Linked DNA regions of Homo sapiens: region 2 is linked to region 1. The links are contacts of gene promoters, found by promoter capture Hi-C in blood cells and fetal thymus (Javierre and others, 2016). All regions are on one chromosome and are shown on one strand. The core of a region is centred on a gene start or on the middle of the fragment in contact, and the rest is flanking DNA. Distances in the headings are between cores, read along the strand shown. Region 1 holds the start of USP33 (ubiquitin specific peptidase 33). Region 2 overlaps PIGK (phosphatidylinositol glycan anchor biosynthesis class K).

Region 1 (6,930 bases), core at 3,845-6,344:
ATTAAAAGAAATACGCAGTCTTCTAACTGAGTTCTCTGGCTACAACCTATGTGTTCTACAATCTATTCTTAACATTACCACTATTAATAATACCAAAGTATAGCTCCAATCTGGCAATCTTCATTCCAAATAACATCCTCTAAATGAGATTTGTAAATATTAATTAGCATTTCCTATAAAGATTTTTAAAAATCTGTCCAATAATGAATGGCAAAATATGGTCAATTCTAGCCTTATCTCGTTGAAATAATTTTGAGAAATATTGGAAGAGAGAGGAAATAGAAATGAATTAATGAATATGACAGAGTTCTAACAGAGTCTCAAATAAGCTGATGATAATTTTCACTCTAAGTCTCACTTTTGAGCAAGATGAAGAGTTAATATACTGGCATTACGGAACAGTCATTAAAAATATTCATGTAAACCACATAGAAACATGGAAAAACCTAAATCTTCAGTTCAGCTTGTGAGCAAAAAGAAAAAAGAAAGAAAGAATATGAGAAAACAAATGCTATCACCATATTCAAATGAGAACCACCATAAGAAAAATTATCAATTCTTTTATTGTTTACCAGACTATAATATTGATTTTAAAACTAATCAAAACTGATTCATCTAAACACAGTAATGCTTCCATAAAAAATATAAGAAATTCCAGCCAGACATGGCAGCTCATGCCTGTAATCCCAGCACTTTGGGAATCCAAGGTGGGAGGGTCACTTGAGGTCAGGAGTTTGAGACCAGCCTGGCCAACATGGTGAAACCCCCATTTCTACCAAAAAATACAAAAATTAGCTGGGTATGGTGGCGTGCGCCTGTAATCTCAGCTACTCCAGAGGCTGAGTGGTGAGAACTGCTTGAACGCAGGAGGTGGAGGTTGCAGTGAGCCAAGATCGCACCACTGCACGCCAGGCTGGGCAAGAGTGAGACCCTTTCACAAAAAAGTAAAATATATAAGAAATTCCTCTTCTAGGATTTTATAAAAGTTAAAACCTGTGGGAAATGGTCTTATTTTAGGTCACATTCAGCCCTATAGTTTCACCACATTACTGTATTTCAGGACTGTGATAAGCCCTGGGGGATAGAAATTAATTTAACAAATGCTTATAATCCAGCATGGGCCAGACATTATAAGTTTGTGGGGATGGCAGCATTGTTCAAGTCTCCACCCTGCTTTCCTTTTGAATGACTGGTCATCAACACTCTTATCATCACTCTCCTGAATACTATGCAATTTTTTCACTTTCCTTAAAAAACTAATTTGAAAGTCAGTGTCCTTCTGTCAACCCTTCTTTTTCACAAGTTAACTAACTTTTAAACCTCAGTACCATCTTAGATCCCTCCTTACTTTTTTCATTTACTTTTTTTGAAATGGGAGGCTCTCTATATTGCCCAGGTTGGACTTGAACTTCTGGGCTCAAGCAAATCTCCTGTTTCAGCCTCCCAAGTGACTGAGACTACAGGCTCAAGCCACAGCACCTGGCTCCCCTCCTCACTTTCTATCAGTTTCTAAATTCGGCATTTTTTTTTTTAACCACATTTCATCTCACATTTCTTCTAGGTCTCTATCTAAATTGAGGCTTTTATTTCACATCTGGATTATTCAATGAGAATGCCTGTTAAGACACAGAGTTGATACCTGGACCATCTCCTTTCAGCTCACTTCAATGTTTACTTGTAGCTGGTATGCACAGTTAACACACTGACAACTTCCCATCTCAACTACTTCTCTCCTCAGCTCTCCAGCACCTCAGGAGCTTGCCAAGCCCTACCTAACCAGTGTACCTGGGAAGTTCTGGGAGCCTTTTAGATAAAGGCAATCTTTATCAGTGAGGATTGACTGTAGATGGAAAACCACCCAGCTCCCCTTCATTTGGGGCAGTTATACAAAACTCTGAGGCAGTTATACAAAAATCTCCAAAGGCTTAAGCAGCCTCCAGTTGGCCTTCCACTATTAACCTTTTTTCCTCCTTCTCTGATTCTACCTGCTTCCTCACTTGTGCTTTATAGCATCTCACCTGCACCCATGTCATCTCAGGTCCAAGTTCAAGATGCACTTCAGAGAAACCATAAGGGCTACAAAAATAATGGTCACAATCTAGCTTAACATAAAGCCACCCCAGCAGTCTTCCAGTCTCAATCTTCTAACAGTTACAGCTCATTTTCCTTTCATGTGGATCACATACCTCTTCTGATCAAACACCTTCAGTGAAGTCTTTCATAATTTGTCTTCTTTATCTATTATTAACTTACATAAACTATGAATATCAGCCACATTGTTCTACCGATGTTTTCTCAAATGTAAGTTGTACCCTTCAAGGAGCTCATTAATCTGTTCACATTACAAATATCCTCCAATATTTACCTTTCAAAGCTCACTCATCTCAAATACTACCTTCACCAAGCCCCAATCACAAGTAATGTCTACCTCACCTAAATTCCTAAGGAACTTTTATAAAAACTCATAAGGCATTTACTGTTGTGTAAAAAATTGCCTCACTTGACTACAAGTTCTTTGAAGGCAGAAACCACGTTTCATTCTTTTTGTTTTCCAAAGGGCCTTGTCCTGGTAGACTCAAAATATTGACCTAACTTAACCTTCTGAACATTTGACAGCATGATTTATTTTGATATACATATTGTTTCTTAAAGACTAGTTCTCAGTATACAATATAGCACATAATTCATGTGCCTTTTTATAGATAGTTAAAAGCAACTGTACTCATCTCACACTCTTTGGAGTTTTCCCACTTATCAAAATGTTCCTGCAGACACATGTACACTTTTAAAGTTTAAAAACTACACTAAATAGAGCTGTTACTTATTCCCTTCCTTTTTAGAAATGGTTACATTTCACATTTCTCACCAAAAATCTTTCAGCATTTTATGTACTTCATTTTCTTGTGAAGAGTCCACAGTCTTGTCATATGTTATAGTTCACAGTGCTCCAATCTTAATCTATCTGAATTCCCAATCTGTATCAAAAGCTGCTTTGGCAACATTATTTCAGGCTTTACGAAATTCTGATCCTTACACAATCTTGAAATGTTTCTGTCATGGGGAAAGACTTTATTTCTTGGCATTCGGAGCTCAGAGGACTGGCATGAGGATCAAGTAAGACTGTGTAAGTGAAAGGTCACAGAAAATTCTAATACTACTACATAAATGTAAGAATTATCATCTCAATTCTGAATTTCAAATATTTAAAATCACCTATTTACTACAATCTAATGTCATTAAACTGCAGTTATATAAAAAGACTTGCTTACTGTTAAGTTATAAAAAGTTCAGAAAAGACAGAAAAAAAGTGAAACTGGCCATAAACCAGATCATAAATAGGAAGCAATCTTAAGTAGACTATCCCTCTTGCACATATCAGGTCAAATATTTTATTCCAATAATATTTTTTGTACTGTCCTTTTTTTTTTTTTTTTTTTTTTTGAGACAGAGTCTCGCTCTGCTGCCCAGGCTGGAGTGCAGTGGCATGATCTCGGCTCATTGCAAGCTCTGCCTCCCGGATTCACGCCATTCTCCTGCCTCAGCCTCCCAAGTAGCTGGGACTACAGGCACCTGCCACCATGCCCGGCTAATTTTTTGTAATTTTTAGTACAGACGGGGTTTCACCGTATTACCCAGGATGGTCTCGATCTCCTGACCTCGTGATCGTCGGCCTCCCAGAGTGCTGGGATTACAGGCGTGAGCCACCGTGCCCAGCCCTGACCTTTCTTTCAATCCTGCCAAAGTAATGAAATAATACAAAGCTCCTAGCATTGTGTAACTATTTCTATTATTTTTTCATAAAACTAGCATTGTCTTTAAGATTCCTATTTTCTCTCTTATTTATAATAGTATGAATTCACTAACAATATTTGTATTATGCTCAAATCAAATAGCCTATGACGATAATGTGACTTGGTCAGACCTTTCCAAATAAGACAGTAGGAAAAACGGAACTAGGACGGCCTTGTTACTTTTTGTAACACGTTTTTCTTAAAGGAAAAATAATCTGATTAAACTTAAAAATTCTCTACATCCACATAGTTATTAAGCAAAAGGCCTAGAGATCGTTACGGTAAAATTCACCTTCAATTTAAGTCTATGCTCCTGCCAGAATTTCACCCTCTGGCTCAATTTTCCAGGCCTAATACTGATTCTATGAGAATGTAAACTCCAACGGTACTTGAGTGCAAAACACCCAGGAAAATCTCATCGTCCAAGAGCTCAACGTAAAACCCTGTAAATATTCAAATGAAGAGCGTTTTGTATACGAGAAATATAAGTAAAGGTCTGGGAAACCACACACTATGGATCTTTCATCCAAACAAAGGCTGCAGATGGACAGAAGGTAAGGGGTAACCTCTCAGTCAAGATCAAACATTGGTCGAAGAAAAATTCCAGGGACGATGACACCTCGGTTTTTCCGTTCACAACAACAAACAACGGGGCCGGCCCCCTCAACAGCGCCGAAAAGCGAAACCAGAACCCAGGAGCCGGCGCGCTGCAGGGCTTTCAGTCACCCACTGAGAGGGACTGGCAAGCCTGAGTGGGGAGACCGAGGAAGGGAGCAGAGCCCCCGCTTCTCGGGCTCACCTGCACCTCCCGCTTCCAGGGAAGAACCCCTGAGGACCCTTCCTCAAATCAACGACCGGTTCCCATCCTCCACCGACCGTTGACAGGGCGACCACTAGATTATCTCTGCAACGCAGAGCACCGAGGGGCCAAGGCCTTCTTCCCGCCCGCGAACCCGCCGCCACCCAGGACCAAGAAAAAGAGGCTGCTGCAGCGGCCGCAACCCCAGCGCGCGGAAGCGAGAACAGAGACCGGACCCCGGACGCGAGCGAAACGCCCTTGGGCCCCGCGCCCCTCCCAGCAGCGCCGCGCTCACCTCCACGGCCTGGCCCGCGGGACCCGCCAGCTCGACCAACAACGGCCTGCAGCCGCACCTCCGCAAGCTCCTCTTTTCCTTCTCAGCTCTCGGAGAGGGGCAGTGTCGCGTCAGGAGGGCCGGAAAACGGCCCCGCAGCGCTGCCCTCGGGGGGTCCGCCTCCTGAACTGGCCACTTCCCGCAGCAGCCGCGGCTCCTTCCGGTGTCTCCGGGGCCGCCGCAGGCGTCTCCGGCGATAGGGGAGGTGGGGGCGGAGCCTCGATGGGAGCCCGCCCCAGGGGCGGGGCCACGGGAGCCAGGCCCAGGTGCGGGGACCCAGGCCGGCTCCCTACTCTGACTGCAAACTAACTGTACAGGGTATGTGCAGCAGTTTGAGGCTGTGAGCTTTTTTTTTTTCGTTTTTCACATGTTTTCTCCTTCTCTTTCACAGTCACACACTACGACCATTATAAGGTCTTGTCTCGATGCATTACAAAAACTGCATTAAGGCTGGCCACTGAAGGGCCTCAGGTTTCCAAACTTGAGCAAAGAAATATTAGACTTAACTTATCCCAATTCAACATTGTATTTCCTCCTTTCATCTTTCTTCCCCCAACTTCTTAGGACCTAGATTCTCTGAAAGCAATTATGTTTCCCTTTTCCACCTATGCAAAGAAGAAATTTATCTCACCATTTTCTCCTTAGGCTAAAATCAAGAGGATCAAATCAAATATTTATTGAAACCTTAGTATCTGCTTAATGCCTGGAGCATGGAAGGAGTCCTGCCTTCTAATTATGTAACTGTTAAAATGCACTCGATTGAGGTTCAAATCTATGAATAAAAAAGGTTATATTAATAAAAAATTGTTAAAATTGCCAGTTTCAATCTGTCTCATGACATCTGACTTTTTGGTCTCCAAAATGGGAGCATGTACCAAAGTATCATGCAAGATGCTCAGTCTCCATTGGAATAGGTAGAAAATATAAAAGCTTCTACTTATTTTTATGGTAAAAATGAAATAAATTAACCATGATACAAAATTCTAGGTAGGGATTGACACTCAGGCCTCAATTTGCACCACAAATGATTGCCTATCCTCGGTTCACTGAGGAGAATAGAAATTTCACAGAATAGAAGTTTCACAGGCAGGCGCCATGGTTCATGCCTGTAATCCCAGCACTTTGGGAGGCCGAGGCGGGTGAATCACTTGAGTTCGAGACTAGCCTGGGCAACATGGCGAAACCCCATTTCTACTAAAAATACAAAAATTCGCCAGGCATGGTGACAGGCACCTGTAGTCCCAGCTACTCAAGAGGCTAAGAGTGGAGGATCACTTGAGACCAGGAGTTTGAGGTTGCAGTGAGCCATGATTGTGCCACTGCACTTCAGCCTGGGTGACAAAGTGAGATATTCTCTGGGAAAAAAAAAAAAAGATGCCGTTAGGAGATGAAAAGTTGTCTCCAGCCGGGCACAGAGCCTCACACCTGTAATCCCAGCATTTTGGGAGGCCAAGGCGGGTGGATTACCTGAGGTCAGGAGTTCAAGACCAGCCTGACCAACATGGTGAAACCCCCATCTCTACGAAAAATACAAAAATTAGCCAGGTGTGGTGGCGCGTGCCTGTAATCCCAGCCACTCAGGAGGCTGAGGCAGGAGAATTACTTGAACCCAGGAGGCAGAGGTTGCAGTGAGCCAAGATAGAGCCACTGAACTCCAGCCTGGGCAACAGAGGAGGACCCTGTCTCAAAAAAAAAAAAAAAAAAAAAAAAAGCTGTCCACAGAGGAGATCTACAGAAGAAAAAAAAAGAAGAGAGACAGAGAGAGAAGAAAAGTTAGGCCAGCAAATAGAATTTATTTGAAATACATATAATTGAAAAGGGGCTCAACTCCATATGTATTTCCAGAAATCAATTTTTAAAAAAACAGGCGACCAAATAGAAAAATAGACAAAAGTCACTTCCCCAGAAATTCTTCTATTGAAAATGTATCAGGGGTATTCTGTTCTTACAGTGTCCTAGCAAATTCAATTCAGCCTCCAAGTCCCACCACCATCCTGCTTAGTAAC
Region 2 (6,822 bases), core at 854-3,353, 620 kb before region 1:
GGCTATAGATGGCATGGCTGATAAAAACACAAATCAAGCTATAGAAACAGAACTATAATACACCAAATAAAGATGGCATTGTATTGCTCATTGTATCTCTTGCACTGGAGGAAGACATCAATATGACTGTGATGAGTTTTAGATGGCACACTTTTAAAAAGGCATTGACAAAGTATGTTCATTTTATATACACTACCTTCAATCTTCAAAATAACTCAGAAGGTAGAGAGTAGATCACCCTATGACAGATAAAGTATCTGAGTCTTAGAGAGATTAAATAAGGTACTGTATTAGTCCATTTCACACTGCTATAAAGAAATATCCAAGCTGGGTAATTTATAAAGGAAAGCATTTTAATTGACTCACACTTCCACATGGCTGGGGAGGCCTTAGGAAACTTACGAACATGGCAGAAGGCAAAGGGGAAGCAAGGACCTTCTTCATATGGTGGCAGGAGAGAGAAGTGCAAGCAGGGGAAAGGCCAGACACTTATAAAACCATCAGATCTTATAAGAACCCACTCACTATCACAAGAATGGCATGGGGGAAATCACACCATGACCCAATCACCTTCCTCCTTCTCTCCACACATGGGGATTACAATCCAGATGAGATTTGAGTGGGGACACAGAGTCAAACCATATTGGGAACCCAAAAAAAGCAAAATTTGAATGCAAGTCCATTCATCTCCGTGCTCTTTCTACTAGATCATGTTGCCTTAAAAGTTTCTTCTAGCACTAGGAGGGGGCAATTTGGCCATACTTCACTTGTAGAATATTTGAAAACCCAGTAGCAAGGCACACCATTATGCCAACAAAAATTGACATTTCTGAAATGGGATTACAGATTTATATATTAATGTAAATGTCTTTTCCTTCTTGTTTTACCTAACAGCTACAATCCTAAAGTGTTATTGTATAAATCAATTTTTAAAATGGAATACACTTTCCCCAATGATAAGCTAGAAATAAAGATTGTCTTATTACTAATTAGTAATAAATAATCCTCACACACAAACACCCCTTAACTTTTTTTGACCCTTCAATTTCTTGGTCAAGTATTTAATAACATGGAAACTAATATCTAAAAATATGCCATAAGTATCTGATAGATTCATCTATTTCATAGATAAACTTCCATATTGTTAGGTTTTTTTAAAGCCTACACTTACATATAGAGAGAAATTTTTACCATCCTTTATAAAAAATTTTTGTGACCCAAAATTGATATCCAACATAAAGGATATCATAAGCAAAGACCGCAGGTCTGTATCATTTACCAGGTCCATTTTTCCCCCATAATAAAAGCCATATAAAAAAATTTACATATAGAGAGAAATTTTTACCAACCTTTATAAACTGACAATTCAATATCAAAATTATTTTTCTCTACCAGTTGCCTGAAAAAACAACAATCATAATTTATTTGAAGGTATAACCTACCTTGATCGCCAGCATTTAAAAATATTAGACAGTTCCCTATATACAAATATATGATACTACTGCCATCTTCTGGTACAACACAATTTCCAAATTCTGTATAGTATTTCTATAAATGAGAATCCACCAAATATGAAATAACTAGTTTATATTACTGAAAGCAGAATTGATAACCAGCTAAATGGCTAAAATGCAGTTCAAATAGAATTCTAGCAATAATTAATTTTTATCAGTGTGTGAGATAAGTTCTCTCAATAATACTTAACACTTACTGAGTGCTTCACTATATTTGAGGCATAGAATTAAGTGCTTTCTAAGCAAAATAAAAATTACTTTAATAACTATATGAGGTAGAGTTATTATTCTCATTTTACAGATGCAGAAACTGAGGACAGAAGAGGTCCAGTAGTTTTCCCAAGGTTACATAGCTAGTAAACGGCAGAGGATCTGAATTTAGGAGCTTATTGATTCCAATGACTTTGCTTTTATTATTATATTGTAATATCCCCTATAATGTCAGATAGTAGACAATAAGTAAGTCTGTTAACTCATTTAGAATGGTAAGATTTAATTTAGTGGAGTGGAACAATAATATTACAATTAGTGCAAAGATCAGAAGAGTCACATAAATCAAAAAGACATAAATCAAAGAACTAAAAGAAACCTTAAGGGTCTCAGAATTTATTTTTCCATATGATACAGAACTTTATCGTCTAAAAATCCAAATGAATTTGCCTCTAATTGTTTTATAAATATCATATGATTTGTAGATTTTATACAATCAAAAAGTTTAGGTGCTATGCATTTAGTGTTTAAATTAAAATTAACTTTGCTTTGACATATTTAAGAATATTAATAAACATTAGTTGGAAACTACTACTCCTAGTAAACATATTTGCCAATTTATATTTAGAGATGTTTTATTAACACAAAGGGATATGGTACTATGTTGTGCTATACTATTTATATATACTGATTTCTTAGAAGTCATAAAGCAACTCAATAGACGCTTTTGTTAATTACAGATAGGGCAGTGAAATAAACTGCTAAAAAACAAAAACAAAAAACTACCCATGATATGACCAATCCATTTTGAAACTATAACAATAAGAACTTTATCCATATGCAAAATGACAAAATGAGTAATTTAATTATGTTTTGGTGCCTTTATAAATTAAACGAATCACATCTAATTTCTGAAATTTCATTTTAATGAGCTTTTGAATAACTGAAGTGACAAACAGCTGTAAATAACAATATAAAATAAATGACAAAATAAAATGCTGAGATAATGTGGAATTATACTGATGAGTAAATTAATCACTTTGAAAAATATAGTAACATGTAGAAAAGTATAGGAGAAATCCTGTCAACTGTTACTTGAATCATTTTGGTGAATTTTTGGTTCATAAAGTTTTATAATTGTATCAATTTACTATCAGCAATTTTAAGCGAATCATGTGATCATAGTTTCATATTCTTCACAATCAATTTTACCCGAATCTCAAAGAGATGTTACTATTGAATATGTAAATTTAACTTTTGATTTAATTTCCTAGTAAATATTATAAATAGACTAGAATCCATATGTTCAATAATGTAATATATACTATAGTAGGTCCTTTACATTTCCATATAAATTTTGGAATCAGCTTGTCAATCTCTACCGAAAAATAAAAAAATAAAAAGCCTGCTGGGGTTTTGATTGGAATTGGGTTGACCCCAAATCAATAAGATCTCAGAAAAACAGTCAATATAAAATCAATTGTAATACTTCTGCATTTGAGCAACAAACAAATGTAATGTTTTAAAAATAACATACAAAATGTTTAGGAATAAATTTAATAAAATGTGTAGGAAATATCTACAATAAAACAATATAGAGAAATTACATGAGATCTAAATAACTGTAGAGATATACTCACGGATTGTGAGGACTCAATACTGTTAAGCTGTGATACAGCCCAATATAAAGTTAATTCAATCCCAATCAAAATCCCAGTAGGCTTTTATTCTTTTTCTTTTTTTACTTTAAGAAACCTACAAGCTGATTCATAAACTTATATGAAAATGCAAAGAACCTAGAACACTGAAAACAACCTTGAAAATGAAAAAAAAAATTTGGAGGACTTATATAATTTCAGGAGTTTCTATAAAACTACAATAATCAAGAATGTAATAGTGGTATAAAGATAGAAATATTACAATGCAACAAAATAAAGTCCAGAAATAGACCCCCAAAACATGATTTTTTGACAAAGGGATCAACATAATTCAATGAGGAATAAATACAGATGCTGCTCAACTTATGATGGAGTTATGTCCCAATAAACTCATTGTAAATAAAAAATACTGTAAATTGAAAATGAATTTAATACCATGATAAACCCACTATGAAGTCAAAAATGATAAGTCGAACCATTGTAAGTAAGTTGGAGACCATCTGTAATTTTTTCAACAAATGTTACTGGAATATTTGGATGTCCATATGGAAAAAAAAATGAACCTTAACCCCTACCTCACACAATACTCAAAAATTAATTCAAAATGGATCACAGACCTACACATAAAAGCTAAAACTATAAAACTTCTAGAAGAAAACAAGAAAATCCTAATGACCCTGGTTAAGCAAAGACTGCTTGCATAATAGGTACTAAGCATAAAGAAAAAATAAGTGGATTTCACCAACATTTAAATTTCTACCCTTCAAAAGACATCACTAAGAAAATGAGGCTTGGCACCACAGCTCATGCCTCTAATCCCAGTGCTTTGGGAGACACAAGCAGGAGGATCGCCTGAGGCCAGTAGTTTTAGATCAGCCTGGATAACATAGCAAGACCCTGTCTCTAAAAAAAATGTAAAAGAGGCCTGGCAAGATGGCTCACACATGTAATCCCAGCACTTTGGGAGGCAGAGGCAGGTGGATTGCCTGAGCTCAGGAGTTCGAGGCCAGCCTGGGCAACACGGCGAAACCCCGTCTCTACTAAAATACAAAAAAATTAGCCAGGCATGGCAGCATGCACCTGTAGTCCCAGCTACTCAGGAGGCTAAGGCAGGAGAATTGCTAGAACCCGGGAGGCGGAGGTTGCGGTGAGCCAAGATTGTGCCACTGCACTCCAGCCTGGGCGACACAGCGAGACTCTGTCTAAAAAAAAAAAAGTAAAAGAAAAATTAGCCAGGCATGGCAGCTTGAGCTTGTAGTCCCAGCTACTTGGGAGGCTGAGGTGGGAGGATCACCTAAGCCTGAAAGTTCAAGGGTACAGTGAGCTATGACTCTGCATAGGCAAGAGAGAAAGACCCTGTGAGGGAAGATGAGGGAAAGAAGGGAGAGACAGGAAGGAGGGGAGGGGAGGTGCATTAGTCTGTTTTCACACTGCTGACAAAGACACACTCGAGACTGGGAAGAAAAATAGGTTTAATGGACTCACAGTTCCTCATAGCTGGGGAGGCCTCAAAATCATGGCAGAAGGCAAAAGGCGCTTCTTACTTGGTGGCAGTAAGAGAGAATGAGAGGGGAGCAAAAGCAGAAGCCCCTTATAAAGCCATCAGATCTCGTGAGACTTATTCACTACCATGAGAACAGTATGGGGGAAACCACCCCCATGATTCAATTATCTCCCACCGGGTCCCTCCCACAACACATGGGAATTAGGGAAGTAAAATTCAAGATGAGATTTGGGTGGGGACACAGAGCCAAACCATATCAGGAGGAGAGAGGAGGGAACGGGAGGGGAGGTGAGGGCAGGGGAGAAAAATTCAGACTAGGTAAGTTTCTTCTAACCCACTAACATAAGAGGTGAGTGTTTAGAGTTCATAATGTCTTAGATTCTGTTTTTCCTTAGGTAATTCTATAGAATTTAGACTTCTACAAATTTGGTAACACTAAAATGTGCAAAATTTTTACAGTCACAACCTGGAGGATATCTTCCTAATACAGAAAAGATACAAAACTGGTAACCTCAGTAAAAGGTTTTCTGACACAGAATTACCACCAGATTCAAAAAACCCAACTCTTTGAAGAGGAAGAGAGTTTATCTGTCTGCATACTTATCCAAAGCCAGCCTATGTATACTACGATGAAGCTGTTTAAAATCAAGTTACCTAAGCAAAGCTTATTACAATCAGTCCTTATTTTACCTCATCTGCTCTTGCAAATAAATTACAACACAATTAGTAAGACATATGCAGAAACAAAGGGTTGTTACTATATAACTTTATCTTACTTAACATATGTAAGTTTCAGAAGACACATAAAAACAATTCTTATTTCATAAAGGTACTCCCAATCAGTTTTATGTACTAAAGTTCTCCATCATATCTGATTTTACTCTAGTGTACTACACAAAATATAAAATATGAATAACTGAATCAATGGACTCCACTGTTTCCCTAATATGTGTAGAAAGTATTTCTAACTGTCAATTTTAATAACAGTGTGTTGATAATTTAACCTAAGATTTTTTTAAATGCATATATACTCCAGCCTATAATTTCCTTAATAAAATAGTTTTTTATGATATCTGATCTCTCATTATATACTTTAAATAAACTTTGGATTGCCATTCATATTTGCATGCAAACAGCACCTACATACAATGAGATAATATTTATAGCATCTATGTAAAAATTCCTGAACCACTGGGAGCCTGATTCTCATAAATTAACTGAATAAAGTACACCAATAATTATGAAGCCATCTGGTAAATAGCAACATTGTAAATAAAATTTATTTATAAACACTAGAGGGTGCTCTAATTCAACAGTGCTTGATATCTGGCTGTGATATTTAAAGTAATTTTCTCCTTGATTAAAAACAACAATCTTCGGCAATGACAATTTTTGCTACTGTGCTAATACATACAAATAATTTAAGAGCCAAATTCCATTCTTCCAGAACATATAACAAAACAATTTGTCAACATAGGCAATATAAAAAAAACGCAAATTGTGACATCAAAAATTCAAAATGTCGGGGGAGAGGGAGTTAATGTGCACAGGTTTTGGTTTGTTTGTTTGCTTCTTTTCTCTTTTTTGGTGATTGAAGTTACGTTAGCATCAGTTTTTGTTTTTTGGTTTTTTTTTTTTGAGACAGAGTCTTGCTCTGTCGCCAAGCTGGAGTGCAGTGGCGCGATCTCGGCTTACTGCAGCCCCCGCCTCCTGGGTTCAAGCAATTATCCTGCCTCACCCTCTTAAGTAGCTGGGACTACAGGTGCGCACTGCCACGCTCAGCTAATTTTTTTGTATTTTTAGTAGAGATGGGGTTTCACCATGTTGGCCAGAATGGTGTTGATCTCCTGACCTAGTGATCTGCCCACCTTGGCCTCCCAAAGTGCTGGGATTACAGGCGTGAGCCACCACGCCCAGCCATATCAGTTTTAAATAA

The links. Contacts are between HindIII fragments. The CHiCAGO score rates a contact against its expected background, and 5 or more counts as called.
Region 2: a contact is called between a fragment that was not itself captured here and the fragment with the promoter of USP33 in region 1, in 1 of 17 cell types (monocytes). The highest score is 6.6, in monocytes.

What each region holds. Positions count from the first base shown.
Region 1 is chr1:77,754,758-77,761,687 of GRCh38, forward strand. It overlaps USP33 (ubiquitin specific peptidase 33), which reads right to left and starts at 5,095. Exons shown (of 24, transcript NM_201624.3): 1 at 4,886-5,095. RefSeq lists an enhancer at 1,642-1,691 and a silencer at 5,005-5,284. The HindIII fragment of the contact is 6,279 bases long and covers 1-5,852 here.
Region 2 is chr1:77,142,210-77,149,031 of GRCh38, forward strand. All of the region lies in intron 9 of PIGK (phosphatidylinositol glycan anchor biosynthesis class K), which reads right to left. Among named protein-coding and RNA genes, the nearest start is that of PIGK, 74 kb to the right of the region's middle. The HindIII fragment of the contact is 6,890 bases long and covers 1-5,548 here.